Linked DNA regions of Homo sapiens: regions 1, 2, 4, 5, 6 and 7 are each linked to region 3. Evidence: promoter capture Hi-C in 16 types of primary human blood cells and fetal thymus (Javierre and others, 2016). All regions are on one chromosome and are shown on one strand. Each heading gives the region's core, a stretch centred on a gene start or on the middle of the fragment in contact. The rest is flanking DNA. Distances are from core to core; before and after follow the strand shown. Region 1 overlaps SEC23A (SEC23 homolog A, COPII component). Region 2 overlaps LOC105370461 (a long non-coding RNA gene). Region 3 holds the start of MIS18BP1 (MIS18 binding protein 1). Region 4 has its middle 37 kb from the start of FBXO33. Region 5 overlaps LOC105370461 (a long non-coding RNA gene). Region 6 overlaps LOC105370461 (a long non-coding RNA gene). Region 7 overlaps GEMIN2 (gem nuclear organelle associated protein 2).

What was found. The method cuts DNA at HindIII sites, captures the fragments that hold promoters and counts their contacts. A CHiCAGO score of 5 or more calls a contact.
Region 1: a fragment that was not itself captured here is called in contact with the fragment with the promoter of MIS18BP1 in region 3 in 8 of 17 cell types (total B cells, total CD8 T cells, non-activated CD4 T cells and 5 more); the score reaches 7.2 in total B cells.
Region 2: a fragment that was not itself captured here is called in contact with the fragment with the promoter of MIS18BP1 in region 3 in 7 of 17 cell types (naive CD8 T cells, total CD4 T cells, activated CD4 T cells and 4 more); the score reaches 18.7 in naive CD8 T cells.
Region 4: a contact is called between a fragment that was not itself captured here and the fragment with the promoter of MIS18BP1 in region 3, in 2 of 17 cell types (total CD4 T cells and naive CD8 T cells). The highest score is 14.5, in total CD4 T cells.
Region 5: a contact is called between a fragment that was not itself captured here and the fragment with the promoter of MIS18BP1 in region 3, in 7 of 17 cell types (naive CD8 T cells, total CD4 T cells, activated CD4 T cells and 4 more). The highest score is 14.0, in naive CD8 T cells.
Region 6: a contact is called between a fragment that was not itself captured here and the fragment with the promoter of MIS18BP1 in region 3, in 7 of 17 cell types (naive CD8 T cells, total CD4 T cells, neutrophils and 4 more). The highest score is 10.1, in naive CD8 T cells.
Region 7: a fragment that was not itself captured here is called in contact with the fragment with the promoter of MIS18BP1 in region 3 in 11 of 17 cell types (naive CD8 T cells, total CD4 T cells, non-activated CD4 T cells and 8 more); the score reaches 15.4 in naive CD8 T cells.

The regions. Positions count from the first base shown.
Region 1 is chr14:39,037,480-39,041,584 of GRCh38, forward strand. It overlaps SEC23A (SEC23 homolog A, COPII component), which reads right to left. Exons shown (of 20, transcript NM_006364.4): 18 at 3,253-3,408; 19 at 1,552-1,617. Among named protein-coding and RNA genes, the nearest start is that of SEC23A-AS1, 64 kb to the right of the region's middle. The HindIII fragment of the contact is 1,685 bases long and covers 2,014-3,698 here.
Region 2 is chr14:39,450,612-39,454,679 of GRCh38, forward strand. The region is part of intron 1 of LOC105370461 (a long non-coding RNA gene); the gene reads left to right. Among named protein-coding and RNA genes, the nearest start is that of FBXO33, 20 kb to the left of the region's middle. The HindIII fragment of the contact is 2,490 bases long and covers 1,162-3,651 here.
Region 3 is chr14:45,250,966-45,255,244 of GRCh38, forward strand. It overlaps MIS18BP1 (MIS18 binding protein 1), which reads right to left and starts at 2,237. Exons shown (of 17, transcript NM_018353.5): 1 at 2,070-2,237. LOC107984674 (a long non-coding RNA gene) reads left to right here and starts at 2,326. Exons shown (of 4, transcript XR_001750746.2): 1 at 2,326-2,676. RefSeq lists enhancers at 2,206-2,265, 2,366-2,545, 2,455-3,404, 2,566-2,755, 2,826-2,885 and 1 more. The HindIII fragment of the contact is 13,340 bases long and covers 1-4,279 here.
Region 4 is chr14:39,392,899-39,397,153 of GRCh38, forward strand. No RefSeq gene overlaps it. Among named protein-coding and RNA genes, the nearest start is that of FBXO33, 37 kb to the right of the region's middle. The HindIII fragment of the contact is 1,460 bases long and covers 526-1,985 here.
Region 5 is chr14:39,486,848-39,490,884 of GRCh38, forward strand. The region is part of intron 2 of LOC105370461 (a long non-coding RNA gene); the gene reads left to right. All of the region lies in intron 2 of LOC105370460 (a long non-coding RNA gene), which reads left to right. The region is part of intron 2 of LOC112267899 (a long non-coding RNA gene); the gene reads left to right. Among named protein-coding and RNA genes, the nearest start is that of FBXO33, 56 kb to the left of the region's middle. The HindIII fragment of the contact is 623 bases long and covers 2,018-2,640 here.
Region 6 is chr14:39,470,401-39,474,439 of GRCh38, forward strand. All of the region lies in intron 2 of LOC105370461 (a long non-coding RNA gene), which reads left to right. Among named protein-coding and RNA genes, the nearest start is that of FBXO33, 40 kb to the left of the region's middle. The HindIII fragment of the contact is 3,159 bases long and covers 770-3,928 here.
Region 7 is chr14:39,120,962-39,124,838 of GRCh38, forward strand. It overlaps GEMIN2 (gem nuclear organelle associated protein 2), which reads left to right. Exons shown (of 10, transcript NM_003616.3): 5 at 1,469-1,582. Among named protein-coding and RNA genes, the nearest start is that of GEMIN2, 8.6 kb to the left of the region's middle. The HindIII fragment of the contact is 5,325 bases long and covers 1-3,877 here.

The sequences.
Region 1 (4,105 bases), core at 1,606-4,105, 6.2 Mb before region 3:
TGTTAACATTTTGCCACGTATGCTTTATGTTTCTACATTATTTTTCCTTTTTTCTTCTTTTTGTTGAATAACTTCTGGAAGTTGAAGCCATCATGACATTTTATTCCTAAATACTTCAGGATGTATCTCCTAAGATCAAGAAGAATCTCCTACATAACCACACCATTATCACTCTCAAGAAATTTAATAATTCTGTACTAGTTATCTGATATATGATCTATATTCAAATCTCACAAATTATCCCAATTATGTTCTTTATAGCTATTCTCTCCCTTTAATCCAGGATTCAATCAGAATTCAGATTTTGTGCATAGTTGCCATGCCCTGGAATAATTACTTTCCTGCAACTTCTAATCAAGTCCTATTGAGTCTACTTTTAAAATATCTCCCAAATCTATTCCTTTCACCATCTTGCCTTTACTCCCTCTCACTTGGATTATTTTCGTAAATATACTTTCAACCTACAGACTGCTTCCATTTAATCTTAAGATTCAACTATACTAAGACTCAAATCTGCCCTCTGTCCACCTTCAATGACTCTCCATTACTTACCAAATAAATACTCAACTTCTCACTCCTCAACCTGACATTCAAGATCCTCCACAATTTACTTGTACAACACATTTCCGTTTTATGTTCTTCTAGTCAGCTCTGCATGTAGTCTTTTATCTTAGCCCATACTATTCTCTACCTAGATTTCCCTTCCTCATGCAATTTCCAATTACTGAAATAACCATTCTTTAAATGAAATGTTTCTTTTTTCTGAGCTCTTTTCTGATTACACACCCTCTTCCTGCTACCACTATGTGACCTCTTGCCATCTTCCTCTTCTAACCTTTGTAATACTTCATAGCTTTCTAAGGACAAATATCCCATTCTGCCTTGTAATTTACTTAGGTATGTATTTTATCTCTAATATTAGACTACAAGCTCTCCAAAGGCATGGGTAATAACTGCACCCTAAAGAGCCAATACAAAGTCCTAAACATACTGGACACTCAATAAATGTTGATATGTTATACCAAGAGGTTAACACTTTTTTTTTTTAAGAGATGGAGTCTTGCTATGTTGCCCAGGCTGGTCTCAAACTCCTGGCCTCAAGTGATCCTCCTGCCTCAGCCTCTTGAGCAGCTGGGATTACAGGCATGAGCCACCACACCCAGCAGGACTTTTACCAAATTAAACTATATCAATAATGATTTGCAGGGTTCCTGCCCCTCCTTCTCAACTATGATCCCTGGCCTCTCTTGGCTTATCGTGGCCTTTTGTGGTTCACAACCTAGCATTAAACTGGAGTCACCACTTCCTGTCTTACACACTTCATTGCTTTTTGTCTCAAGGGTATAGTGCTAAACTTGGAGTCTATTTGATAGGATCACTTTTGTCCTATGGTGTCGCCAAATATTAATTCTGTTTTCTACTCTCATTTTTACATTACTTTTCCAACAGAAACCATTACTAAATACACAGGAAAAAAATGTAGCTTTCACTAAAATAATAAACAATAAATACACAAAGAAATAATTTCCAAGACCTGCTATTTAAACTTACCTGCCCCCAGGCATACATATTATTATGAGTCTGTGAAGGGTTGACTTTTGAAAGGAGGAAACGGGCCTTAAAAGCAAAGAAGAAATAACATTATCCATCAAAAATGGTTTCAGTCAATATCAGCTGAATAATTATATCATGCAAAATCAATTTTATTTAGTATGTGTTGGTAAAATTAATTTTATTAACTTAATTTTTAAAAGATTAAACTTTGAAATGTATAGGTCACTAAGTGTTACAAATAAATAATAAATGCACCTCTTCTCTCCAAATCATACATCCAAAATAACAAATACATTGTTGAGTCCAAAACTCAGCATATAAAAATTATGTGTGCAACAATTATGACAAGGTTGGTGTGAAATTACTAAACACTTGGTCAGAAGTTCAAAATCCCAAATAATGATAAAAACAAAAGCCATGAAAATCTGTATGTTCTTTTGCTTAAAATAATGACCCTTAAGCTTTCTTAAACCACAGGTGATTCTATGAGACAAGTGATCCAACATTTTATCCTTCTACCCACTATGGCTTATCATCATGAAAATAATAACCAGAATAAAAGAGGAAAATGGTAATACACACAGTGAGACATCAATGAAAGAACCAGTAAGATTTTTAACTCATAATGGAAGCACATAGACAGTAACATCTTTTGAAATTTAGTATCATACAAAATCTTTTTCTACTCTCTAAGGAATCAGTTTAACCTAACAGTGAAGAGCACTGGCCCTGGAGTACCAGGACTCAAATCCCACTCCTGTATTTACTGTGTTCCCTTGGCCATAAGTAACCTAGATCTCAGTTTTATTATCTGTTAAATGAAAATAACACTAGAATTCTTATGAGGATCAAATGAGATAAGGCATGCAGAAGTACTTTGCAAATTCTCAATATGAAATAACTCTCATATAAATACAGTAAAACTAATAGTAATTATCATTTCTGAATAACAGTTACTGATATTTGCTACCTATTTTATAATACCGTACTAGGCACTAGGGAATACAAAGCATAGTCCCTGCCTTCAAAGAGCATGTAAAACAAATTAATAACAACTTATAATTAATTTATTATAACTCTTATAAGAATTACAAAAGAGAAGTAAGAAGTATTTTATGAGAGTATGTTAAGGAACCTAACTTAGCCTTCTGAAGGTCTCAAAGCAACTGTGTATGTATGTATATGTATCTAACGTATATGTATCCTCAAAATCCTAAAAGCCACAAAACCTTTTCATAATACTACAGTGTTTTCCTATTACATAAAATTTTATTTTCTAGAAAATTGGAATGATAGAATGAAGACAATGAAAAAATGTAAGTTACCACAAATGTCATATTCATAGACTTTAACAGTAAATAAACGGCTTTAAGAAAAGTATATTACTTTCCAAGCTGTTCACATTTTCTTGTTCAACCAAAGCTAGTATACCACCACAATGCCATCCTGGCCCTGTTCAGGAAGCTAGGCTAGAGACAGAAGATGATGGAAAGTGCCAGGTTTAGGCAACTAGTCAATAATCTTACTGTTTTGCTCTCAAAAGCTAATGCAAAAAGTAAGCACTGATACCTTCCCCACCTATCTCCTTACCTTTCTGTCTGCTTTATGAAGCAATCTATTAAAATCAGAAGGCAAGCAGGTACACCTCACTGCAAACCTAACAACAAACAAACACACAAACAAATTAACACTACTTACCTGGCTGCCTCCATGTTCAGTGTCAATGTATCTTGGCATTGGAAATCTGGAGTGAAGAATTTCCTGTGCATCATCCACTGGGGCTTGCAGAAGGTGGCGGAAATTTTCATACTCAGGCATATCCTGGTATCCTGACTTCCGCCACTGTGCTATGGTCTAATTTTAAAACAATTAAAGAAATTACTTTAAATTTCTTGCCCATCCAAAAATCTTGAGATTTTTCCAAAGAAAATAATCTTTAGAAACTAAAAAAATTATAGACCATTATTCCATTTACCTCAATTTTTTAAAAGTTACAATTTCAGTAGAGAAAATATTCTTAATAAATATAAAATTAGAATATTTCTTCTCCTTTAAAAGTAAAATGAAAGAATACTTACATAAGTCAGAAAATTTTTAAAACACTATGCTTATCAAATGAATGTTAGCTAAAAGCTATCTACCTAAGCTTATGATACGTGAAAGCAATTGAATCAATCCATAGGTAAGTAGCTCTAAACACCATGTAATTAAATCATCTAAAAACTTATGCCTGGTTTATTTTCTAAGTTAGCTGAATCAGTCAACACATTCTTTTATAGCTTTATACCTCTGTATAAAACAATCATGTGCATTTCTGATTTCTCCTTTAACAAGCTACTTGAAAAAGTAAAAATCACCATAAAACAAAGAAAAAGCAAAAAAAAAAAAAAAAAAAAAAAAAGCCCTGTCAGTATTACAGGTTTTTTTTTTTTTTTTAACAAAGGCAAGAAGTTAAAACAGGTATTATTCTTAACAAGTAAAGGGCATTAGAAACTGGTATCAATTAAAAATAATTTACAATAATAATAATTAAATCTTTTAAAACTCCTGG
Region 2 (4,068 bases), core at 1,157-3,656, 5.8 Mb before region 3:
TCTGTATCTCCCCTCTCCCACAGAATTTGGAATTGCTTTTTTTTTTACTGACAAAAGAATAAGTTATTTTAATCATATTCTCAAAATTATCTGACTTCTCTGTCACACTTGGTTGTAAGAACTCACTCTCTTCTCGGAGACAGTCCTTTTATGATCCATGGAAGAAAAAATTGATTAATTGGACTTACCAAAACTGAAGACTTTTGCTCTACAAAAGATTCTGTTGAGAGAATGAAAACACAGGTTATATCTGGGAGAAAACATTTTCAAATCACATATCTCTTAAAGAATGGATATCCAAAATATAAGAAAAAAATTAAGGAAACAGCCACTTGTAAAAAAATGGACAAATGATCTGAACAACTGCTTCAAAAAGACTTATGGATGGCAAAAAAGACTTATGGATGGCAAATAACCATCTATAAAAAGATTCTCAACATTATTTGTCATTAAGGAAATTGAAACAGCAAGATATTACTGACATACCTGTTAGATTGGTTAAGAGAAAAAAAAAACCTGACAATACTAAATGCTGGTTATCTCATACTTGCTACTTTGGAAGATGGTTTAGCAGTGTCTTATTAAAGTTAAACACAGACTTACCACATGACCCAGCAAAAGCACCTTTAGGTATTTACCAAATTGGTTTGAAAATGTAAATCCATACACGTGCTTTAATCATAGTTGTCAGCTTTGTTCATAATCATCAAAAACTAGAAGCAACCAAGAAGTTCTTCAGTAGGTGAATGCATAAACGGTGGTACATCCATGCAATGGGTTATTATTCAATGATAAGCAATTGATGCTACAACATGGATGCGTCTTAAATGCATTTTCCCAAGTTATTGAAGCCAGACTGAAAAGGCTACATCATATTGAATGATTCCATTCATATGGCATTCTAGAAAGGGCCAAATTTAAGACTGGAAAACCAATCAGTGGTTGCTAGGGATTTGAGGAAAGGGGAGTTTTCACTTGGGGGAAAGAATGGGGGAGTTGTAGAGTTAAAAGTAAACTGTAGTGGTGGACATATACTATGCATTTGAAAAAACTGATAGAACTTTATAGCATAAAGAGCTTAATATGTGCAAGTAAAAAAATCAATCAACCAAGAGTTAGGGATCCCGGAGGGGAATGCAATGGTGACAAAAGAACCTAACAAGCTTGTTTCAGATATGTGATATAACTTCACTAAAGGGATGGGGGAAAAGGTGCTGACCTGAATAATTTTTGGAAAACAGTGTTTTAACTAGAAACTGTAAGATTAAAGACAAAAGTGTACATAAATGCTGCAGCTGGTAAAGTTGTTTCTCACAGGGGTATTGGTTAGCAATTCTGAAACTGCTGTACGTGTATACTGGAAACTGACAAATAAGTAAATGTATTACCATACATTTGGTGATTGATGGGAGCCAAGTTTCTCACTATTGGAGAAGAAGGTTGCAGAAAAGCAAGAGGATAGAATGAACCATGTGGTACTGAATTAGATTTGGAGACACCAATATGAAATTATATTTAGTTTAATATAGATACTGCTGGGCTTTGTAGCAGGTGGCTAGTTTCATAGTGTGCGGTGTTCTCATTTTTCCCTCACCTTCACCCACCCAGACCACAACCCAAACACAATTGTCTTTATTTTTCTGCCTGTCTTTTTGCCAGTAGCGAAAATGTTATTTGTTCATGCCTGAGATAGGTTGTTAACACAAAATTCTAATGAACTAGTCCAAACGCTTAACTTTTGTAGCTGGAAGACCTTCAAACATTTTAAACAAAGAAAAAAATCTTGTTTTTTTCTTTTCCTTTTGGATAGCATAGAGAACTTTTTATTTTTTGTGAAGTAGAATGTGAGTCCTTTTGGGTATATTGGAATTTCTCTGGGGACAATTTTGAAAGAAACTACTGTATACATCAAAAGAACATAAGGATTTCTGTTGTCCAACTGTCTTCAAAATTTTACCTAAAGTGTTCCATTAAAAAAGGCTACTAAGTAGAACTACTAAAATGAATAATAAAAAATATAAAAATGAATAATGAAAAAATACAAAAAAAATAAAAAATAATTCAAAAATTTACCTAGAGTACCATTTAAAAAAGGCTCCTAAGTCGAGCTACTAAAATGAATAATAAAAAATGTAAATTTCAAAGTAGCCTAATGTAGCAAGTTGAGAAGTAGAGCTTTTCCCATTCCCTGTGATTTTGGGCTGAGGGCCCAGAGCTGAGAACAAAGCATATTAGTGCCTGGATTTCTAAAGAAAGGATGCTGCTCCATCTGTGTGAAACTAGCTATGGCCACAGTCATTGCCAGGGAAGCAGTTCTAGCCAGTTCCTTGCATATGGTGGCTCTGTGTAGTGCCATGTGACTTTGCCAGCTTGTTTATAGCTAATTGGTGATTGTTGGGTCAAGTGCTCTTTCACTCTAACTGTACCCAGGCCAGTGGCCTACCGGAAGATGCAATGAAGACATTGCCTACATAGAAGTGGCCATTTGCTGGTCAATTAGATATTTCTTTTTATTTTTCTTGTTTTTGAGACAGGGTCTCACTCTGTCACCCAGGCTGGAGTGCAGTAATGCCATCATGGCTCACTGCACCTTTGACTTCCTGGGCTTAAGCGATCCTCCTGCCTCAGCCTTCTCAGTAGCTGGGAATATATGTGTGCACCACCACACCTGGCTGATTTTTTTTTTTTTGAGATGAAGTTTCACTCTTGTTGCACAGGCTGGAGTGCAATGGCACGATCTCGATTCACCACAACCTCCGCCTCCTGGGTTCAAGCGATTCTCTTGCCTCAGCCTCCCAAGTAGCTGGGATTACAGGTGCCTGCCACCACACCTGGCTAATTTTTTTGTATTTTTAGTGGAGACCAGGTTTCACCATGTTGGCCAGGCTAGTGATCCACCCACCTTGGCCTCCCAAAGTGCTGGAATTACAGATGTGAGCCACCACGCCCGGCCCTGGCTGATTTTTTATTATTGTTTTTTGTTTTTGTTTTTGTTTTGTAGAGATGGTGTCCCACTATGTTTCCCAGGCTGGTCTCAAACTCCTGGGCTCAAGTGATCCTCTTGCCATGGCCTCCCAAAGTGGTGTGAGCTACTGCACCTGGCTGAATCTCCTTTCTGAGATTCTTTCTTTTAGTTTAGTTTTTTTTTTTCGTTTGTTTGTTTTTGAGACAGAGTCTTGCTCTGTCACCCAGTCTGAAGTGCAGTGGTGTGATCTCGGCTCACTGCAGCCTCTGCCTCCCAGGTTCAAGCGATTCTCCTGCCTGAGCCTCCCGAGTAGCTGGGATTACAGGTATGCGGCACCATGCCTGGCTAATTTTTGTATTTTTAGTAGAGATGGGGTTTTGCCATGTTGGCTAAACTGGTTTCAAACTCCTGCCCTCAAGTGATCCACCTGCCTCAGCCTCCCAAAAGTGCTGGGATTACAAGCATGAGCCACCATGCCTGGCTAGTTTTGGTTTGTTTTTAAACAGAAGTTACAGCAAGATAGGCCGTTGCTTATAAGAGCAAAACCCAGTAAAGCACAGATAAATAACTGAGTCATGTCAGTGTTGAAATATTGAAATAGAGCTCCATCAACTCCTTCTAGAGCTGCCTGAATCCAAATTAAAAATATTTTTTCATGCCATCAAGTTCTATTTAAATTTCATATAAGCTTGTTTTCAGGTATAAACAGTTTTTGGTATTGGGAATAGTGCTCTTCACTTGTCAGTTTATGGGAGACATTCTTTTTGTTTCTGTCCTCCATACATATCCACTTGAAATCCTTATCTGAAAGGCTACTGTTGTTACACCAGTGATTCTATTTGAAGCTTCCACTATAGTTCTTATCCACTTGAGCTATAAGGACTGACAGCATCTTCTATTGCCATCAGGACTCCTTTAGGCTCAGGGAATGTGGTTACATTTTGTATCTGTTAAGCAAAGGAAGGCTTTAAAATCGTAAAATTGTGTTTATTTTATAGAGTAAAATAGTGTTTATTTTACAGAGTAATAATCTTAGTGTTGTTCTCCATCCTATTTAAAAAGTGTCCCTGTCAAACAAAAACTTCACTTCTAAGGAGAAAACA
Region 3 (4,279 bases), core at 987-3,486:
GGCGGAGCTTGCAGTGAGCCGACATCGCGCCACTGCACTCCAGCATGGGCGAGACATCAAGACTCTGCCTCAAAAAAAAAAAAAAAAAAAAAGGGCTGGCCATAAGCATTTATAGTACAGTCATGCACTGCATAATGACATCAAACCACATACACAGTGGTCCCATAAGATTATTTTGGTGTACCTTTTTTTTAAACTTATTTTTACTGTACCTTTTCTATATTTTGGTATGTTTAGATACACAAATACTTATCATTGTGTTACAACTGCCAACAGTATTCAGTAAAGTAACATGCTGTACAGGTTTGAAGCCCAGAATAGGTTATAATATATAGCCTGGGTTTTTATAAGTACACTCTATGATATTGGCACAATGACAAAAATTACCTGAGAATGTATTTCTCAGAACGTATCCCAGTCAGTTACAAGTGACATATATAAATACAGAACTGAAGCTAAACAATTATGTATATGATCCTGAATGTAACTACTCCTCCTCCTCCTCCCAAAAAACATGGAAAGTTCTTGTAAGAATTTACTGTAGTGGTAGTAGTAATAACTATTACTATGGAATGGGTCAAAAATCCCAGAGCACACTAACCAAAACTGGGACATAGAATTAGGGGGAAAATAGAATTTTAAGTTAACAGGCAAATGATACACTTGAAAAAAATACTCAGCACATATGACAAAGGGCTAATTTAAATAACATTCAAAGAGACCTAATAAATCAACTTTAAAAAATATACAAAACAGAAAATGGTCATGGGACATGAAAGGTGATTAATAGAATACAAAAGGCCAATAAACGAGTTGTGACACCTGATTTTACTAATAAATGGAGATGCAAACTAAAACAGTGAGATTTCTTTTTCATATCACATTGGTAAATATTAATTTCAAAATGCAAGTATGCATACTATTGACACGGAAATTCCACTTCTAACTTGTTTTTTCCTATAGAAACATCTGCGTAAGAATGCAAATATATATGTACCATAATTGCCGATATTTACTGAATATTTACATGCCAGCCACTATATAATCTAACAGCAACTCTAAAGAGTTAAGTACTGTTATTACTCCCAATTTGAAAAAAGAGAAATTAAGGTATAAGGTGGTTAAGTAAGCTGCCCAAGGTCACTTGACAATAAGTGAGAAAGAGGAACCGATTCTACCCGACTCCATAGCTTCAGTTATTTACCAACAGGCAACAGTCTACACACCCACTACACAGGGAAGTTCACTGCAGCATAAAATGAAATGAAACAACCCAGATGTCTACCAATAAAGGACAAAATAAATCCCGCCACATCCATACAATTTACTCTATGTATTCAATAAAAAGATATATATGTACTTATATGGAAAAGTATCCAAGAAACATTAAATTGAAAAAGAAAGTAACAACATAGAATTGCATTTGTTTAAAAAAATTTTTAAGTAAATAAATAAAACACATACAGGCATAGAGAAAAACTCTGGAAGCGGTGAACCAAATTGTAAACAGTGTTTATCTTTGAAGGCCAGGATGAAGTGGCCTACCATTTTCTTGAACTCCTGAGCTCAAAAGATCCACCCGCCTCGGCCTCCCAAAGTGTGGGATCACAGGCGTGTGCCACCGCGCCCGACCATTTTCTAAATAATTTTATTAACATCTAAAGATGTTTGCAACAAGCATGCAATTTAACCAGAAGAAAACATAAGCTGAATGATCAACTGCTTCTATAGCCCTGTGGGTCCTGGGGTCCCAAGGGGAAGAGTTGGGTACTGAGGAATACAATTTTCCCACTTGGTATTCTAAAAAAAAAAAAAAAAAATTTATTTTAGAACAAAGACCTAGAACGCTCACCATCGAAATAAATTTGAGCAATCGTGTTCTACTCTCTTAAGTACAGTAGACACGCAACAAGTAAACATCGAGTGCGAAGTATAAAATCCGTACCAAAGCCAGAAATCTACAAAAAAAATAAATAAAACCGCGTGAGCCGAGATGCTTAAAGGGCAGACGCCCACCATCTGCGGGGACCCGCGGTAGGAGGTTAGCGGAGGGCGCGGGGAGGACGTACCTTGGATGAAGAGCCTGGCAGGGAGAGACTGCCGCAGTTCCGGCTCGGCTCCGCGCGGAGAGAGGGCCGCACGCCGCCGGGCTCGCGCCTCAGGCCCACGGTGTATCCTGCCCGCGGCGGCCAGGCGCCAAGCGACGCTTACCTCCTCCGCGACGTTCTCTAACACACAAAACACTTCCGCAATTCAAATTTGAAGAGCCCGCCCTCCAGCCAGCCCGGGATTGGCACGCTCGGGAATTGCGCCACCGTGCGTCTCACAGGGACGCAAGAAAACTGCAGGCGGCCTCTGCACTCCGTGGACGGCAGTGTGTCCACAAAAAGTAGGCGACCCTAAGCTGTCACAGGCAGGGGGCGAGCTCCTCTAGTTGTCTTCAAAGTTCGTTTCGTCTTCGTAGGGCACGCGCCCACCCTGAATCCCGCCTTTCCTCTCGTGAAGCTCTGCCGGGACAAGGCTGACGTGGGACGACGTGGGACGCCGTGGGCCGCGAGCACGCCCCGGCACTACTGCGGCTAAGTTTGGCCTTTCCTGGTTGCCGTCCTCCCCTACAGGCTGTGCGCCGTAGCGGCTGTTATCCTTCTTTTCCGTCTCAGGAAAACAGCGTGCTTGGTGGGTTTGAGAGAACTTCTGTTTTTCTGTCCTCCATGTTTGAGGCGGAGAAAGAACATTTTGTTCTTGAGGTGATGATGGATTGAATGTAAAGTTACGCACAAAGTGGGATGTTTAGTTGGAACTGTTCCCTCAGGAAATACGATTTTTTGGGCGTGGGGGACAGGGTTTCGCTCTGTCGCCTAGGCCTGAGTGCAGTGGCGCAATAACGGCTCACTGCAGTCTGGAACTCCAAGGGATCTTCCCACCTCAGCCTCCGAGTAGCTGGAACTACAGGCGCGCGCGACCATGCTTGGCTTATTTTTATTTTGTAGAGAGGAGGTCTCACCATGTTGCCCAGCCTAGTCTGGAACTCCTGGGTTCAAGCGATCCTCCATCTCGGCCTCCCAAAGTGCCAGGATTACAGGCAACCGCACCGAGCCAGGAAGTGATTAATTTTTTTTTAAGTCACTTCACATTCCAGAAACATTAATCTCGACAACTCTAGGTTGCTGTAAGCAGCTTGTGACGGTGGCCCCCAGACTGCGTCCCGCTTTAGACTGCACCCAGTGAATCTCCACTCTAACCACCGCGGAGTGACCGGGTGTATTCTTCGCCTTGTATAGGGCACATTGGTTCAGTCTTGAAAGTAGAGAAGGGGAAGCCAGGGTAGTAAGGTGTGTTCTCAGCCCTGAACCCTGTCCAACTCCAGTCCTGCATGAAGTCTGTCCTCTTCCCCCCATCCGCATTTGTGACAACAGAGCTTCTTTTTATTTTATACTTCCATCTAAGAAAATTAGTCAACTTCTAGTCACATACCACATTTCCCCATTAAGAGGCTTTACTGAAAAGGTGGTAATTTTTTTTTAAAGTGACTTTTGCAGTCCCTTCTAAATCCTGCATGTACTAAATTTTGTACACACTGAATAATCAAAATCCAAAATATAAATTTAAAACATCCACGTGAATGCAAATAAGGAAAAACAGTTGGAGGTAGGGGGAAAGGAAGCAAACTTACCTGGATAAAATGAAGTTTCTTTCTTGTACACCATAATGAGAAAATGGTTGGACATGGATTTGCACTACTTTTTTGGGAAAAACCCACCTTAAAACAGGTTAAATGGCATGTATGAAATATACTTTGATAGAGGAAGTTTGAAGGGATGGTCATTCAGATTTTAAAGCACCTGAAATTGAGGTATAGGACGTTTCTGTGCCTGATGAAGATGGCCGTGGCTCACACATTTAGACAAAATAGGAACCCTGAAGTATTAACAGCAGGCACTCAGAAATGCACACTTTTTTTAAATTAGCCACTTCTCATGTAAGAAGGAAGTAGTATGTAGTATGTCCCAATGTGAATGGCCACAGGAATTTACATAAGATGACTAGTAATTTTCCAAGCAAAATTGGATTAAACAGTTTGTGGATAAGAAAGTGTGATGAGAAAGCCTAGAGGCCAAGGGACAGTACCTCTGTCCCTTAAATGGCAACATGCTGTAACCGCCCAAGGGGTTCACCTTGCGTGCTGCCTAGACAGAGCTGATTGATCAATACAAGTAAATTGCAATGGAGAAAGAGTAATTGACGCAGAGCCGGCTGTGCGGGAGACTAGTGTTTTATT
Region 4 (4,255 bases), core at 6-2,505, 5.9 Mb before region 3:
TTTTTTTTTTTTTTGCAGTGGTGCGATCTCGGCTCACTGCAACCTCCCCCTGCTGGGTTCAAGCTTCTCCTGCCTCATCCTCCTGAGTAGCTGGGATTACAGTTGCCCGCCACCACGCCCGACTAATTTTTGTACTTTTAGTAGAGATGAGGTTTTGCCATGTTGGCCAGGCTGGCCTCCAACTCCTGACCTCAGGTGATCCGCCTGCCTCGGCCTCCCAAAGTGCTGGGATTATAGGCTGAGCCACCACGCCCGGCCTTAAGTGTGTATTTTTTAGCTAAAGGCTAGTCTTTTAAATATATAGTATTATTTTAGCCATCTTCAGTAGAAATATTTCCAAAATGTATTAAATGCTCCATTAATTTATGCCAATATTCTGAACACAGTGTAATTTTCATATTGATTCAAGTTCATTACAAATACTTACCATTGCCCTGTAGTTCAGGTTTGTTATAGGGGTGTTGAAGTCTGTTTCAAACTCCAAAATGGCCTAAGACTGATTATGCTCTTGCTTTCACATGTGTAAGCTTGCATGCCTTTCACAGTCACCCCCTTCCTTTCCCTTTCTAACCCACTGTAGACTGAGAAACCTGATGAACAGGTTTATTAGAATTATGCTGAAAATAAGACAAAGTGAGCTAGCAGGAATTGGAAATGGCTCTTCTGAGTGTGACACCTTTACCCATTAGTCAGGGACTAATCCAGCTCCACGAGTCTTTTATACTTATTTCTGGATCCTTGGCTACACTTCAAATAGCTGAGGTTGTTGGATATAATGTCCACATTAAATAAGTATTAATCTAATGACAATAGTGCTTTAAACTGAAATATGGTAGAGTCAATTACAGTGCCATTTTGCAGCTTTACTGAGGTGTGATTGGCAAAACTTGCATATATTTAAGGTACACAATGTGTTTTCATATATATATATACTGAAATGATTACAATACTCAAGCTAATTAAAATATCCATCACTTCACATAGTTACCATTTTTGGTGTGGTGAGAACACCTGAGATCTACTCTCTTAGCAAATTTCAAATATACATTATTAACAGTAGTCACCATACTGTATATTAAATCTCCAGAATTTTATAATTGAAAGTTTGTACCCTTTGACCAGTATCTCCCCTTTTCCCCCACACAGTGACATATTTTGAAAAATCTATTCAGAACTTTCCTACAAACAACTAGGTCTTAAGCTCTCAGTAGATCTTTGAGCCTCTTTCAAGTTACTGTGATTCAGTAATGCATGAAAGGATAGAAAGCAATACTCTGTCCTCCTGCCTTGGTCACTGCTATGGTTTGAATGTGTCCCCTCCAAAATTCACAGTTTAGTCCCCAATACAACAGAGTTGGAAAGTGGGGTCTTATGGGAGAAGTTTATTTAGGTCATGAGGGCTTCACCCTCATGAATGTATTATTGCCCTTATAAAAAGTGCTTACAAAAGTAGATTAGCTCTCTTTCTGCCATGTGAGATTACACTGTTGCTTCGGAGGATGTTGCATTCAAGGTGCCATCTTGGAGGTGGAGATAGGGCCCTTACCTGACACCAAACCTGTTGGTGTCTTTATCTTGGGCCTCCCAGCCTCCAGAACTGTGAGAAATCAATTATTAATATTCTTTCTAAATTACCCAGTTTCAGATCTTCTGTAATAGCACAAAATGGACTACAACAGTTGACTTTAGACTCAGCATTATGAAACAAGTCAGTCCATGAACATTCATTTGTTTGTAACTTGGATCAGTAAATTACAAATTATTTTTTAAAATAGGAAATAACAAAATAATATAATGAATGCCCCATTACAGATAAAATTACCTTCATGCCCATCCACACTGATCCTTGTCCTCATGCCTGCCTCATAGGTAAGCACTCTTGTGAAGAGGGTGTGAATGTTTTTTGTTTTTCATTATGAGAGAGTATATATTGAAGGATTCATTCAGAGCTAAAAGGCAAATAAACTGATAACTGACAATATACAAGCTTAAGGAGGAAAATGAATGACAAAATTTCTAGTGATCAAGAGTGAGTGAATTGCATTTTAAAAACAGTTGGTAAGTAGGCTGGGTGCAGTAGCTCATGCGTGTAATGCCAGCACTTTGGGAGGCCAAGGTGGGAGGATCGCATGAGGTCAGGAGTTCAAGACCAGCCTGGCCAACATGATGAAACCCCAACTCTACTAAAAAAAATACAAAAATTAGCTGGGCTTGGTGGCATAGGCCTGTAGTCCCAGCTACTTGGTAGGCCCAGGAGATGGAAGGTGCAGTGAGCTGAGATCGCACCACTGCACTCCAGCCTGGGTGACAGAGTGAGACTCTGTCCAAAAAAAAAAAAAAAAAAAAAAGATGGTAAGTACTAAATTACTATAGCATTTAGATTCCATTATACATATTTTAAGAAGTCATGTATGTAATTTACTTTAAACTGCTGATGTTTATATCTGCTAAGATTATGACCAATGTTACATGTTTAACTTAAAAATATGCAAAGGGGTACATTTTTAGGGGCTAGGAAAACAAGTTAGAAAACATGGGATTAGAGAATACATCTAAAAGTGAAAAATCTGGGTTACAGGGCACAGGCAACTTCAACTTTACAAGATATTGCAAGTTTGCTTTCCAAAATGGATATATCAGTTCAAGTTCCACCTGTGTTTCCTCTTCCTTGCCAACACATGGTATATCTTGCCCTTTTAAAAAAATCTTTCAGAAAGGATGATTCAAGTATCCTGAAAACTTACTCATAATACATCATCCGTTTCTTTCCACAACCAGCAAACCAAATTAATTAGTATACTGTACCAGGGGTGATACCCTGCAAGGACACCTAATGAGTCCTGGGGTGGCTGGAGCCTGGGTTGGTTGCCTTCTGATGCTTTCAGGCTCTTCTGAGCAGTGGGAGTGGAGCTGATTCTGAAAGTAGGCCCTGGACAGAGAGCAAACTCAGATACTCACTATTCCTAGCCAGATGAGTCACTGTCCATCACAGAAAAGGGTGGGGGGGGGGGGGGGGGGGGGCGTCTACAAAGCTGTGAAAGAAATACGTTCCAGGTGTCCAAAGAGCAGGAAGGAAGCCCAAGTGTGAGGCCCCCAGGTGTGGCTAGTTGGATTTGAAAGGGTTGGGAGCTGGAGGTGGGAGGAGGGCTCCCTGCAGCCTCTAATTGCCTTCACATATATATAAAGTTGGTGGCTGTTTACTCTTCAGTGGTGTCTCACCTAGCAGTAGGATTATGTAAGGGAGATTACAAATTAGAGCATCATGATTTTAAAATAATTGTAATAAACATCAATTTGAATTTGAACTTAACTCACAACATTATTTCCCAAAGAAGGAAGCGTTAAATTTCTTAGTTTCAACTGCATAAATTAACGAATGGTTATTTTTAAAAAAGACCTAAAAATTATTACCTGTTTGTGGGGTGTTTCTCATTGGTGACAGTATTAAAACATTTTAATCAAATGTCAATTAAATCAATTAAAACATCTGGCAAGATTTTATTTGAAAGTTCCATACAAATTCAGTATTTTTCCTCAAATCTTCTACATTTTTTCATCAATTATATAATTTAAAAAAAGTAATTTTTTTCTCTAATTCTTTCTGGTTTATACCAGTATGCTGTACAATATTTTCTATGTGTGCTACAACATGACAAAGGTTGGGAAACATTGATACAATGTGGTATGGTCCCTGGGTATTATTCACATCTGCTGTGTTACTCCATTAGCACTGTGTTATGTTACTGGCTTCATAAGGATCCAATATGACTCATGCTCTAAGTCCCAAGCAAGTTTCCCCATCTTTGTGTTCAATTTCTGCATCTTTGTGGTGGGGAAATGGAAAGTAATTTTAGATAGATATGTAAATTTCATATAGTTTAATAAGCTATGTTTTGAAAATATTTAATACCTTGGTTTAAAGATGATCTTGTGTATCTGTGAGCTACTGAGCTAACAGCAATGGAAAATTTCAATGAAGAATCGGAGTTTTAGCTAGCCAAGACCAATCCTTCATTTTAGAGATGAGGAAACCAAAGCTGAAAGAGGAGTCTGTGCTCAAGTAGAGCCAGAGCTTAGACTAGAAAACAGATGTCAAGCCTCCCAAATTTAGAGCTTTACTACAATAACCTTAACTTGCATGCTATTCATATTAGTAGACTTTCCTTTTTCGTACATTTTGGGTACGTCTTAAATATATACTTAAACATGTTGATTCATTCAAAGGACTCAGATGTGTCCAGGAAAGTAACGAAGT
Region 5 (4,037 bases), core at 1,079-3,578, 5.8 Mb before region 3:
GTGGAATTTTCGGTCCTCTGATGCCAAAAGGTGAAGCAGAGGACATTAAAACCCTTATGTACATTCTTCGTAGATTGGCCAGAACCACTCCATCATCATTGGTCTCTTATCGGGTGAAAAGGAGGGGAAGCATCAGGCTGTTGGTTGATATCAGTGGTGTAGTCTTTTGAAAGGGCTGGTTTCTGCTAAGCCCTTAGGGAAGAAAGGCTAATTATGGTTAGCAAGGTAGCGAGTATAACAACATGTGTCTGACCTCTCCATCCCATCAAGACTGAGAACTCAGTTTTCAAGATTTCTCTGGGGTTCCTTTGGCCAAGAAATGGTCTGTTTAATCAATTGAAGGGGCTTAGAATTTTATTTTTAGTTTACATTCTCTCCCATTTGGCCAAGACCTGCCAGACTTTTCTTTTGTCCCATATCATTGCTGGGGTGATGTGGCTACCTGCTGCAGGTCCATCCTGTCCCTCAGTGGGACCCTTGTGACAGAGGGACTTAGAGCCAAAAGACTTACAGCCAACTAAACATTTTATGCCAGATGAGAATGGAGGTGGGCAGGTAACCATCAACACTTAAAACCTTTTAAGCAACATAAGAGCCAAAAACCAAAGCCAAAAAGTAAGGTTATAAAAGTGACTTACCAGTTCTATGCACTGAGCTACTACAATCTTGGTGTTAGTTACAGACTTGTAGCCGTTAGCTATATAAAACATAAGCATTTTGCTAAAACCATTTTAAGCTAAGGAATTTAGAGATTTTGTTGTTCTGCAATGCCTTTTGCAATCTCTTAAGTAATTTATCTTAAGGTGGCTGAAAAATTTCTTATTATATCATTATTTGTGTGAACCCCGTAACTGGGAACAACTATACTGAGAAGGCTTTGTCACCAGGTGTCTTGATATTCTCTTAGTAATTCTCATTTACTTCTATGGAAAGCAGGAAATTCTTTATGGTTGGATGGATGGAAAGGGACCACAAGATGGCTCAGGAGGAAAAGTCTCTCAAAAATTTGCCAGCTCTTTAGGCAATCTGTGTGCCTGTCCTTGATTTGGAGAGTCTGAACTAATTCTGTCCCTCAAAACTGGCCCTTACAATCTCACACACCCACCTTTTCCCCCATAGTCTCTGGGCCTAGAGAGAGGGTGCATCTGTTGTTTCAGCAGCAAGGCAATGACAATGAAAAAAAGATTGGGTCCAATAAGATTGCAAATGAGGGACATTCACAGCCTTTGTAGAATCATCTCTGGTTTTTACAATATCATGATTCTGGTTTTCTCAGAAGAAGTAAAACAGTGAGAGATAAATAACATTAATAATTTGACAATCAAAAGAGAATGTGTATGTCAGAATGGAAAAAGGAACCTATTCTGTTAGGGAGACAACTAAAACCATCATGCAGAAATTAATTTTAATTGAGACAAAAGATTTAGGAAAAAGTTGCTCTGTAGGTTGGAGACACAAATTTTATTTTAGACCAGCAGACTATTAGAAATGCTGGTACAAAACTCAAGAAAGGAGTCAGAATTAAAGACAAACACATAGCTGTGTCATAATCCTACCCATTTTATAACTGAGAAATATGGGAGAAAAGATTGTTGTCGCCTCTCTAATATACCCATTATAATCTTCAACCTGCTGAGTACTGGGGGATTAGGATCATGGGGGAACAAACAGATAAACAACAGCTAACACAAGAAAATGGATTTAATCAGGTTTAAAGCTTAGTCTTATGTAAGAATTTAAACATTTCGTTTCAATAATGCTTAGTGTCTTGGAATAATTGCTCAGGGTCTCAGATAGCTTCTCTTCCTAAGACAACATCTAAGTATGTGGTGCTGGGGTGGCTTCTATGATGTTACAGCTTAAGGAAGGCAGGATTCCCAGATTTGCATATTATCCCAAGGCTCCTCTGGTTGCCATGGCGATGTCCTTTGTTTGCTGGCTGCTGCTGCTCTCTCTCAGCATTTGGATTGCTTCTCCCACAGTTTGGTCAGAGCCTAGTGATGCTGCTGGTTGACAAAGCTTCTGGTATTGGGGAGCCCTCTGGATATGAGCTGGAGTCAGCTCAGGCTGGGTGGCTCACTCTGAGCCTCCATCTTCACTTCCACACAGAAGTCTCACCTGGCAAGCTCCCTAGCAAGATACTCTAGGGCTGACATTTGCCCACCTTGGGAAAGCTAAACTCATAGGCTCAGGTGCAAAGTTATTTTGATACTTTCTTGGTTATTTGCCTTTTAATTTGTTTAGTATCTATCACTGGCCGCCCTCCTTCCTCTAACACATACACACACTAGAATATAAGCTCATGATAATGGGGATCTTGTAATTCTTGTTCATTGCTGAATAACAAGCTCCAGGAAAAGTACCTGTCACATCATTGGCTAATAATAGACCTCTGTTAAATCAATGAAAGGAGGAAGGACAAAAATAATAGATGAAATCCCTAAGGAAGAACATGTCAAGTGAGAACAAGATGAGGACTAAAGTGTTTAGTACATCTTCTACTTTCTATTTTAGAGGCAGAAGGCAAAAGAGGCTCTAGGGAAGGAAAGTGAGAACTATTCAAGAGAAGTGTGCAGAGGTTGGGAGTGTAAAATTGGGGCAAGCATGCATCAGTAGACAGAGGTGATCACTGTTGCATAAAGCTTCAGAAGTTGAGCAGGAGTAACGGAATTGGCAACTTGAAGGTTATTGGTAATTTCAGGGAAAGTGGTACCAAGACATGAACCTGGGAAATTCAGTTTCAAGGAATTGTGCCATAAAAGGGAGAAGAGAATTGCAGCAGGTGAAGTCTTTTATGAAGATTGAAGTGAAGGGAAGAAGAATTAGGATATGCCACCTGACTCTTCAGAGCAAAAGACTCACGGAGGATTTTTTTTTTTTTTTTTTTTTGCCTCCAAGACAGAAGAGACTTGGTGTATTGGTATGTAGGGAGGAACTGGTGGAGAGGAAAATGAGGAAGACTGAAGAAGAAGATGGTTTATGAATTTAGGTCTCAGAACTTGACTGGGAAGGGATGAGATCAGCCTTAGAAAGGAAGATAAGAAAATAAGAATGGATGGAAAATAGGAAATCTGAAGCAAGTGGGAGGAAAATAGAAGAATTCACATCCGATTTTGCTCAGTACAAGAGGTGTCCGGCTTATTGGCTAAGAATGTGTGTGTGCAGACCCCTGTGAAAATTGCATGGTGAAACAGGGCCATGTCACAAGGTGTGGCTCCTTACTGCCCACACTTCTTTGATCCTTTATTGACTCAAAGTGAGTGGCCATGCTCCCTGGAGGTTCCTTTAGAGAGAGTGCTTTAAAGAGAGTGCTTTAGACATTCTTGTTTAAATTCAGATAGGAGACTTGGTTAAGGTCTGAGTGTCTTCTCCCTATAGCGTAATCAGTTTCTAAAGAGAGGCCTGGGTGCCTTAAGGTTCCCTAGAATCAATATGAGGATCTCAAATCTCAGACTCAACCCTCTTCATGATTCTGGATTATGTAAGTGATATGAATAATTTCAGTACTACAAATCTCAGGTTTGTCCCTCAGCAATGCTGACTCATTATTAAATAAATAAAATTTATTTATGCTAAATTTTCCTTAGTTGATTCTCTTAAGAATATCTTGTTTTAGATTATCTCATGGTAATTAAGAGTTTATGAATTATATGCTAATGGGAAAATCTAACTTCACATATCTTCTTTATTCTGATTTCATCTATACGAATTTTGTAAAATGTAATATTGGGCAAGGTAAAAGCCACTCCATAGACAAGGAATTACATAATGTGTATATTTGGAATTGAAATGTTTATTTAAAATTTTTTATTAATAAAAGTTTATATAAAGTGATGTTTGCTTTGTTTATACTTTTTGATCATCAATCATTTATTCATTTATTATATATATATTTATTTTTATATATTATTATATATTTATTAATATTATATATTTATTATATATTTATTAGTCATCTATGTGCAGGTTCTGTTCCAGGTGCTAGGAATATAAATGCAGAAAAGATGTAGTCCCTGAATCTTAGGAGTTTATGGTCT
Region 6 (4,039 bases), core at 1,099-3,598, 5.8 Mb before region 3:
GTAAAATCCATTTCTATTCTCTTGAATTGAACAGCTTCAATGAATTGAGTGCTGAAGAATTAACACTCTGTGACTTCATGACTTGTTGGAAATTGTGAGGAATCTCAGGCCACATGGAGGGGCCAGTGAAGATGTTCCAGCTTATAGCCCCAGCTAAGGTTTCAACTAATAGCCAGACTCAACCACCAGGTATATGAATGAACCTTCAGATGATTCTAGTCTCCAGCCTTCAAGCTTCCCCAGTCGATGCTGAGTGGAGCAAAAAAAGGAATTATTCTCACTGAGCCCTGTCCAAATTGCAAATACCTGACAAAAATAAATATTGTTGTTTTAAGCCACTAAATTTTGGAGGAACTTGTTATGCAATCATAAAAACAGATTTTGTTATCTGGAAGTGAGTGCCATGTAACAGAAATCTAAAATGTGGTAGTGGCTGAAGCTAGACTAGACAGGATTAGGCAGGACTAGACAGAGGGCAGAAGGTGAGAGGGCCTTCAGGTGACTGTGGAAGGCTGATGGACCTCAAGGAGGCTATCAGAGAGGGTTTAGAGGAGAGTGAAAAAATATCATTGGAGCTGGAGGAAAGAGGATCATTGTTAGGTAATGACATGAAGTTTGGCCACCTTATCACCTGTGGTAATGTGAAAAGCAGAAAATGGTGATTGTCTGGCTTCTTCTTGCTGCTTATAGTAAAATGATAGGAGAGAGGTAAGCTAAAGAAATAATTGTTAAATATAAAGGAGCCAGAACTTCTTGGACTTGAAAATAAAGCTTTCTCTTTTCCAGTTTTTCCTGACGGCAGAGAATTCTAAAATTAAGAAGATTCTTTATGGAAGGAGAGCAAATCTAGGGTACTGTCATTAAAACATGGTTTATCATGAAGCCAAGGGAGTGATTGTAAAATCTTAGTTCTAATACCTCAGGAAATTTAATGTCATGCCTCACACAGACAGTAGTCTCTCTAATTATCTTAAGGACATGACATACCTTACAGATCCTCTTTATTAAAGAAAAAGTCCTTTGAGAATTTTAAGAGCATTGTCCCTCGGCACCCTTATAGGAAGCTCTAGGACTTATCTTGAAGAGATTTGTGGGTACAGGTTTTGTCTAATGGAGTGGATTATAAACAAGAAATCCACACAGTTTTTTGTTGCAAATTTTTTTTAGAGCAGTTTTAGTTTACACAAAATTAAGCTGAAAGTAGAAAGTTCCTATATTCTCCCCATTCCCCTCTCTCCCTAAAATTTCCCACACTATCAATATCCCTGACCAGAGTGGTACTTTTTTTTTTTTTTTTTTTTTTTTACCATCAATGAACCTACCTTGGTACATCATTCTCACCCAAAGTCAATAGTTGACATTAGGGTTCACTCTTGGTGTTGTATATTCTATTAATACACCAATATGTTTTGACAAATGTATAATGACACATATCCTTCATTATAGTATCATATAAGGTAGTTCCACTGCCCTCCAGATCCTCTGTGCTCTGCCTATTTATCCTTACCTTCATATCCATGACAACCACAAATCTTTTTACTAACTCTTACAGCTTTGCATTTTCCAAAATATCATGTAGTTCATGTGGTAATATACATTTGTTTCTTCCATGTCTTTTTGTGGCTTAACAGCTCGTTCCTTCTTAGCACTGAATAATATTCCAAACTCTGGATGTACCAGAGTTTGTTTATCTGTTCCTCTACTGGACAACCCTGGTTGTTCTCAGGGTTTGGCAATTATGAATGAAGCTGCCATAAACATCTACATGCAGGTTTTTGTGTAGACGTAAGTTTTCAACTCATTTGGGCATATACCAAGGAGCTTGCAATTACTGGATCATGTGGTAAGAGTGTGTTTAGTTGTGTAAGAAATTGCCAAACTGTCTTCCAAAGTGACTGTGCAATTTTGCATTTCCACCAGCAATGAATGACAGTTCCTGTTTCTCCACATCTTCACCATCATTTGGTCTTGGCAATGTGTTGGATTTTTGCCATTCTAATAGGTGTATAGTAGTATCTCATTGCTGTTTTAATTTGCAGTTTCCTAAGGACATGTGATATGGAACGTCTTTTCATATGCTTATTTTTCATTTGTATATCTTTAATGAGGTGTCTTCATATCTTTTGTCTGCTTTTTGACTGGGGAATTCATTTTCTTATTGTTGAATTTTAAGAATTCTTTGTATGGGATCTAATTAAACTAAAGAGCTTCTGCACAGCAAAAGAAACTACCATCAGAGTGAGCAGGCAACCTACAGAATGGGAGAAAATTTTTGCAATCTACTCATCTGACAAAGGCCTAATATCTAGAATCTACAAAGAACTCAAACAAATTTACAAGAAAAAAACTAACAACCCCATCAGCAAGTGGGCAAAGGATATGAACAGACACTTCTCAAAAGAAGACATTTATGCAGCCAACAAACACATGAAAAAATGCTCATAATCACTGGCCATCAGAGAAATGCAAATGAAAACCACGATGAGATACCATCTCACACCAGTTAGAATGGTGATCATTAAAAAGTCAGGAAACAACAGGTGCTGGAGAGGATGTGGAGAAATAGGAACACTTTTACACTGTTGGTGGGTCTGTAAACTGGTTCAACCATTGTGGAAGACAGTGTGGCAATTCCTCAGGGATCTAGAACTAGAAATACCATTTGACTCAGCTATCCCATTACTGGGTATATACCCAAAGGATTATAAATCATGCTGCTATAAAGATACATGCACACATATGTTTATGTGGCACTATTCACAATAGCAAAGACTTGGAACCAACCCAAATATCCAACAATGATAGACTGGATTAAGAAAATGTGGCACATATACACCATGGAATACTATGCAGCCATAAAAATGATGAGTTCATGTCCTTTGTAGGGACATGGATGAAGCTGGAAACCATCATTCTCAGCAAACTATCGCAAGGACCAAAAACCAACACCGCACGTTCTCACTCATAGGTGGGAACTGAACAATGAGAACACTTGGACACAGGAAGGGGAACATCACACACCGGGGCCTGTCGTGGGGTCGGAGGAGGGGGGAGGGAAAGCATTAGGAGATACACCTAATGTAAATGACGAGTTAATGGGTGCAGCACTCTAACATGGCACATGTATACATATGTAACAAACCTGCACGTTGTGCACATGTATCCTAAAACTTAAAATATAATAAAAAAGAAAGGAGATCAATGGTTGCCAGGGACTAGGGGGAAGGAAGAATGGGATTAACTGCATAATAGTTATAGAGTTTTATTTTGAGGTGATGAAAACATTTTAGAACTAGATAGAGATAGTGGTTGTACCATATTGTGAATGACTAATTGTAAATGTCACTTTATTGTTCACTTTAAATGATTACTTTTACATTGTGTAAATTTCAACTCAATTTTAAAAATTTAAAAATGGAACAAGGGAGAGGATTTAGAAGGTTCTAAATGCTAAAAGAAGTTAATGATAGAATTCAGGTAGTGCGTATACAGGTGTTCACTGAAATCTTTCAATTTTGCTGTATGTTTGAAATTTTTTATAATAAAAGTTCAGAGGGAAAAATGGAAAAAAAAAGAATTCTTTATATATTTAGGTAACAGTGCTTTATCAGATGTGTCTTTTGCATATACTTTTTCCAGTCAGTGGCTTTTCTTTTCTCTCTCTTGATCCACACAATTTTTTTAAAGGATTGTATCGTTTTATACTGAAAGGCATAGAGACAGTACAAAATGAAAAGATGCCTTTGACCCCAAACTTCTGCATATGGGAAGCATGCTAAGAACATGGCTATTTTTTATGAAAAAAAAATAATTTAGAGGGTAGAACCAATAGCCCAGAGTGGAGAGCCAAGAGTCACAGTGAATCATTCTTAAACAGTACAACTGAGCCCTAATCAAGTACCAGTACCTTTTGCCCAGCTTGATTTCAAGCTTTTAATGGACCAATGACTTCTGTGTCTCTCCTTTCCTCCTTTTTTTTGGGAGTGTCTATAGCAGTTATCCTGTACTTGCTCCACCATTGTGCATTTGGTGTTTGTTA
Region 7 (3,877 bases), core at 71-2,570, 6.1 Mb before region 3:
TTTTGTTAAGGAGGTTATATTGAGCTGAATGCTTCTCCCAAATAGTCCTGCGTCCTGCTTTTTCTGTCTGGCAGCATGAGTAGATCTGTTTCTTCTTTGACTGGACAACCCTTCAAATATGTGAAATATGTAATCATGTCTCTTTACATGGGATAAATATCCTTCATTCTATTAAGTGTTCTTGGTGCATTTTTTCCCCCATACTTATTTCTGTCTTTATCATCCTCTTTTGGACACACCATTGTCTGTCAGTGTCCACTAAAGTCTTGTCCAAACTAAACACATCTTGGCTGGGCACAGTGGCTCACACTTGTAATCCCAGCACTTTGGGAAGCCAAAGCAGAAGAATTGCTTGAGGCCAGGAGTTTGAGACCAGCCTGGGCAACATAGTGAGACAACTATCTCTACAAAAAAAATTTAAAAATTATCAGGCATGGTGGCACATGCCTGTAGTCCCAGCTACTCAAGAGGCTGAGGTGGCAGAATTATTTGAGCCCGAGATTCAGGCTGCAATGAACTGTAATCACACCTCTGCACTCCAACTTGGGCGACAGAGCAAGACCCTGTCTCAAAAAATGTAATAATAAGGAAAAACAACATGTCCCACATATTGTGTAGCCACTTAGGCACTATGTTTGTCAGGGCTGCCATAACAGACTAGGTGGATTAAACAACAGAAATGTATTTATTTTCTCAGTCTTGAAGGCTGAAAGTCAAAGAACAAGGTGGCAGCAAGGTTGGTCTCTTTTTGTTTGTTTGTTTGTTTTTTGAGGCAGAGTTTCGCTCTTGTTGCCCAGGCTAGAGTGCAATGACGCAATCTCTGCTCACTGCAGCCTCCGCCTCCCAGGCTCGAGTGATTCTCCTGCCTCAGCCTCTGGGTAGCTGGGATTACAGGTGTGCACCACCACATCCGGCTAATTTTTTTTTTTTTTGTATTTTTAGTAGAGGTGGGGTTTTGCCATGTTGGCCAGGCTGGTCTTGAACTCCTGACTTCATGTGATCGCCTGCCTCGGCCTCCCAAAGTGCTGGGATTACAGGCGTGAACCACCGCACCCGGCCTAAGGTTGGTCTCTTCTGAGGCTTTTCTCCTTGGCTTGCATAGGGCCACCTTCTCCCTGTTTTCTCACGTGGTCTTTCCTCTGTGTGTGGGAGTCCCTGGTGTCTCTTTGTGAATCCAAATTTCCTCTTATAAGGACACTAGTAAGATTGGATTACGGCTCACCCTAATGGCCTCAATTTAAATTAATCACTTCTTTAAAGGCCCTGTCTCCAAATACAGTCACATTCTGAGGTACTGGAGTTTAAGGTTTTAACATACAAATTTGGGGGCAGAGATTCTCCCCATAACTGGCTCCGTATCTTTGGGTTGCGGTAATGGGAATATGGAAGGACTTAACTTCTTTTTTTTTACTGTTCAGTGTAAAAATTAATACACAGGAATAAATCAGTTTTTTTTTTTTTCTTTTAGCCAAAATCTGAAGATGAAGAAGGCTGGAAGAAATTTTGTCTGGGTGAAAAGTTATGTGCTGACGGGGCTGTTGGACCAGCCACAAATGAAAGTCCTGGAATAGATTATGTACAAGTAAGGGCTGTGTGGATAAACAGAACAAAAAGCATTTTAATTTTGGTGCACCACTTAATATAAGGGGTCAGCAAACTCTACCCTGGGCCAAGTCCAGTTCATGGCCTTTTTTATATCCATGAGCTAAGGATTGTTTTTAGGTTTTGAAAGAGTAAAAAAGAAACAAATAATATGTGGCTGAGACTTTATGTGGCCTGCAAAGCCTAAAATATTTGCTGTCTGACTCTTGATAGAAAATGTTTGCCAACCCAGACTTAGTTTATTAGCTCTTCAACCTAACAAAACAGCTTAGTTTCTGAAACAATTTACTGTGACTTTTTTTAGTTTGGCTTCATATCCCTTATGTTTGGCTTGGTAATCATTTTATGAGTTGGATAAGATTCATAGTTTTTTTAAATGATGAGGCATCAGGCAAACAGTGTTATGAGTAGCCAGGGAAAAAATGGAAATCGACACAATTAGATGCTTTAAAATGCATAATCACATCTATCACTTCATGGGCCTGTAAAAAATAAATCACATATTCTAAAGATGAAATGTTGAGGATATCTTTAAAATTCATGTGGCTGTAATCATAAGTTATGTAGACAACTCCTTGTCCTTCAGGATTTACCTGCCCCCAAGTTTGCAGGTGTTCCTTGAGAATCCAGTGCATGCCTCTGCATTAGCGCTTACTCCCTATAGCATGTAGTTCTTTTCAGTTCAACAGGTATTTATTATTTGCTATATGGTGCCACATTGTGTTTTTCACATTTAAAACTAATTTTTCCTAAAAATGTAAAAAGCCCCAAGAATCAATAAAAAGACCAAGAATCACCCCTCCCCTGCCCAAGAAAAAATAGCCAAAGGATATAGATACCTCACAGAAAGGAAATAAAATTATTCTTATATGACAAGATGCCAAAAATCACTTGTAATAGAAGTATAACATAACTATGCCAAGGTGCTATTTTTCAGGTAACATATTGGCCAAGAAAGTTTGATACACCATATTGACAAGAGCTGGGGAAACAAGCACTCTTAGACGTGGTACAGGAGTATAAATAGACTCAAATCTTAGGGAAGTTAATTTGGTACTCTTTCTATATAACCAATTGATCTTTTGGATGATATCCTTAACATATGCTACATTTCAAAAATAGCTATATATATATATATATATATATTTTTTTTTTTTTTTTTTTTTTTTTTTTTTGAGACAGGGTCTTCTTCCGTCATCCAGGCTGGAGTGCAGTAGTGCACTCATAGCTCATTACAGCTTCAACCTCCTGGGCTCAAGCAATCCTCCCACGTCAGCCTTCAACATACCAGGGGCAGCAGGCACCCACCACCACACCCAGCTAATTTTTAAATTTTTTGTAGCGATAAGTTTTTTAATTTTTTAAAAAAATTTTTTTGTAGAGAGAAGTTTTCACCATGTTGCAAGGTTGGCCTGAAACTCCTGGGCTCAGGCAATCCTCCTGCTGGGATTATAGGCATGAGCTATCATGGCTAGCCAAAAATGGTTTTTAATTTATAAAGAATTAAAACTTACTTATTTAGCTTATTTTCAGAGAATACATACAAGTAAAATACACCATGTTAAAAAAAACCCTTAAGGAAGTAAGCGTTTAATGTATATCCTCTTAAGTTTCTCACAAATCAGTGGTATTTTCATAATTAGCAATCACAGCCTCAGACTCCAAAGTAGACTTTTAAAAATTGAATCAAATTAGGTTTTAAAAATGTCATTCTAATTCAAGTGTCCTTAATTCTTGAAAATATTAGCTTTAGCTGAAGATTTTGAAATGGTGTATACAACATATTAATGTCATCTTATCAATGTTACAGTTTTATTGGATATACTTAATAAGTTAGTTTTTTCAAGTACTATCATGTAAAAAATTTTTAGTCTTTAACATTTTACTTACTAAAATCATACTTTATTTAAAAATTTACAAATTCAGACCAGGTGAGGTGGCTCATGCCTGTAATCACAGCACTTTGGGAGGCTCTGGCAGGTAGATCACTTGAGCTCAGGAGTTCCAGACCAACCTGGGCAACATGGCAAAACCTCATCTCTACCAAAAATACAAAAAAATTAGCTGGGCGTGTTGACATGCACCTGTGGTCCTAGCTACTCGTGAGGCTGAGGTGGGAGCATCACCTGAGCCCAGGAAGCAGAGGTTGCAGTGAGCCAAGATCGCGCCACTACACTCCAGCCTGGGTGACAGAGTGAGACCCCATCTAAAAAAAAAATTACATATTCAAAATTTAAGGCGTTATTTTCTTCCGCATTACAAACATAGTAGTTTC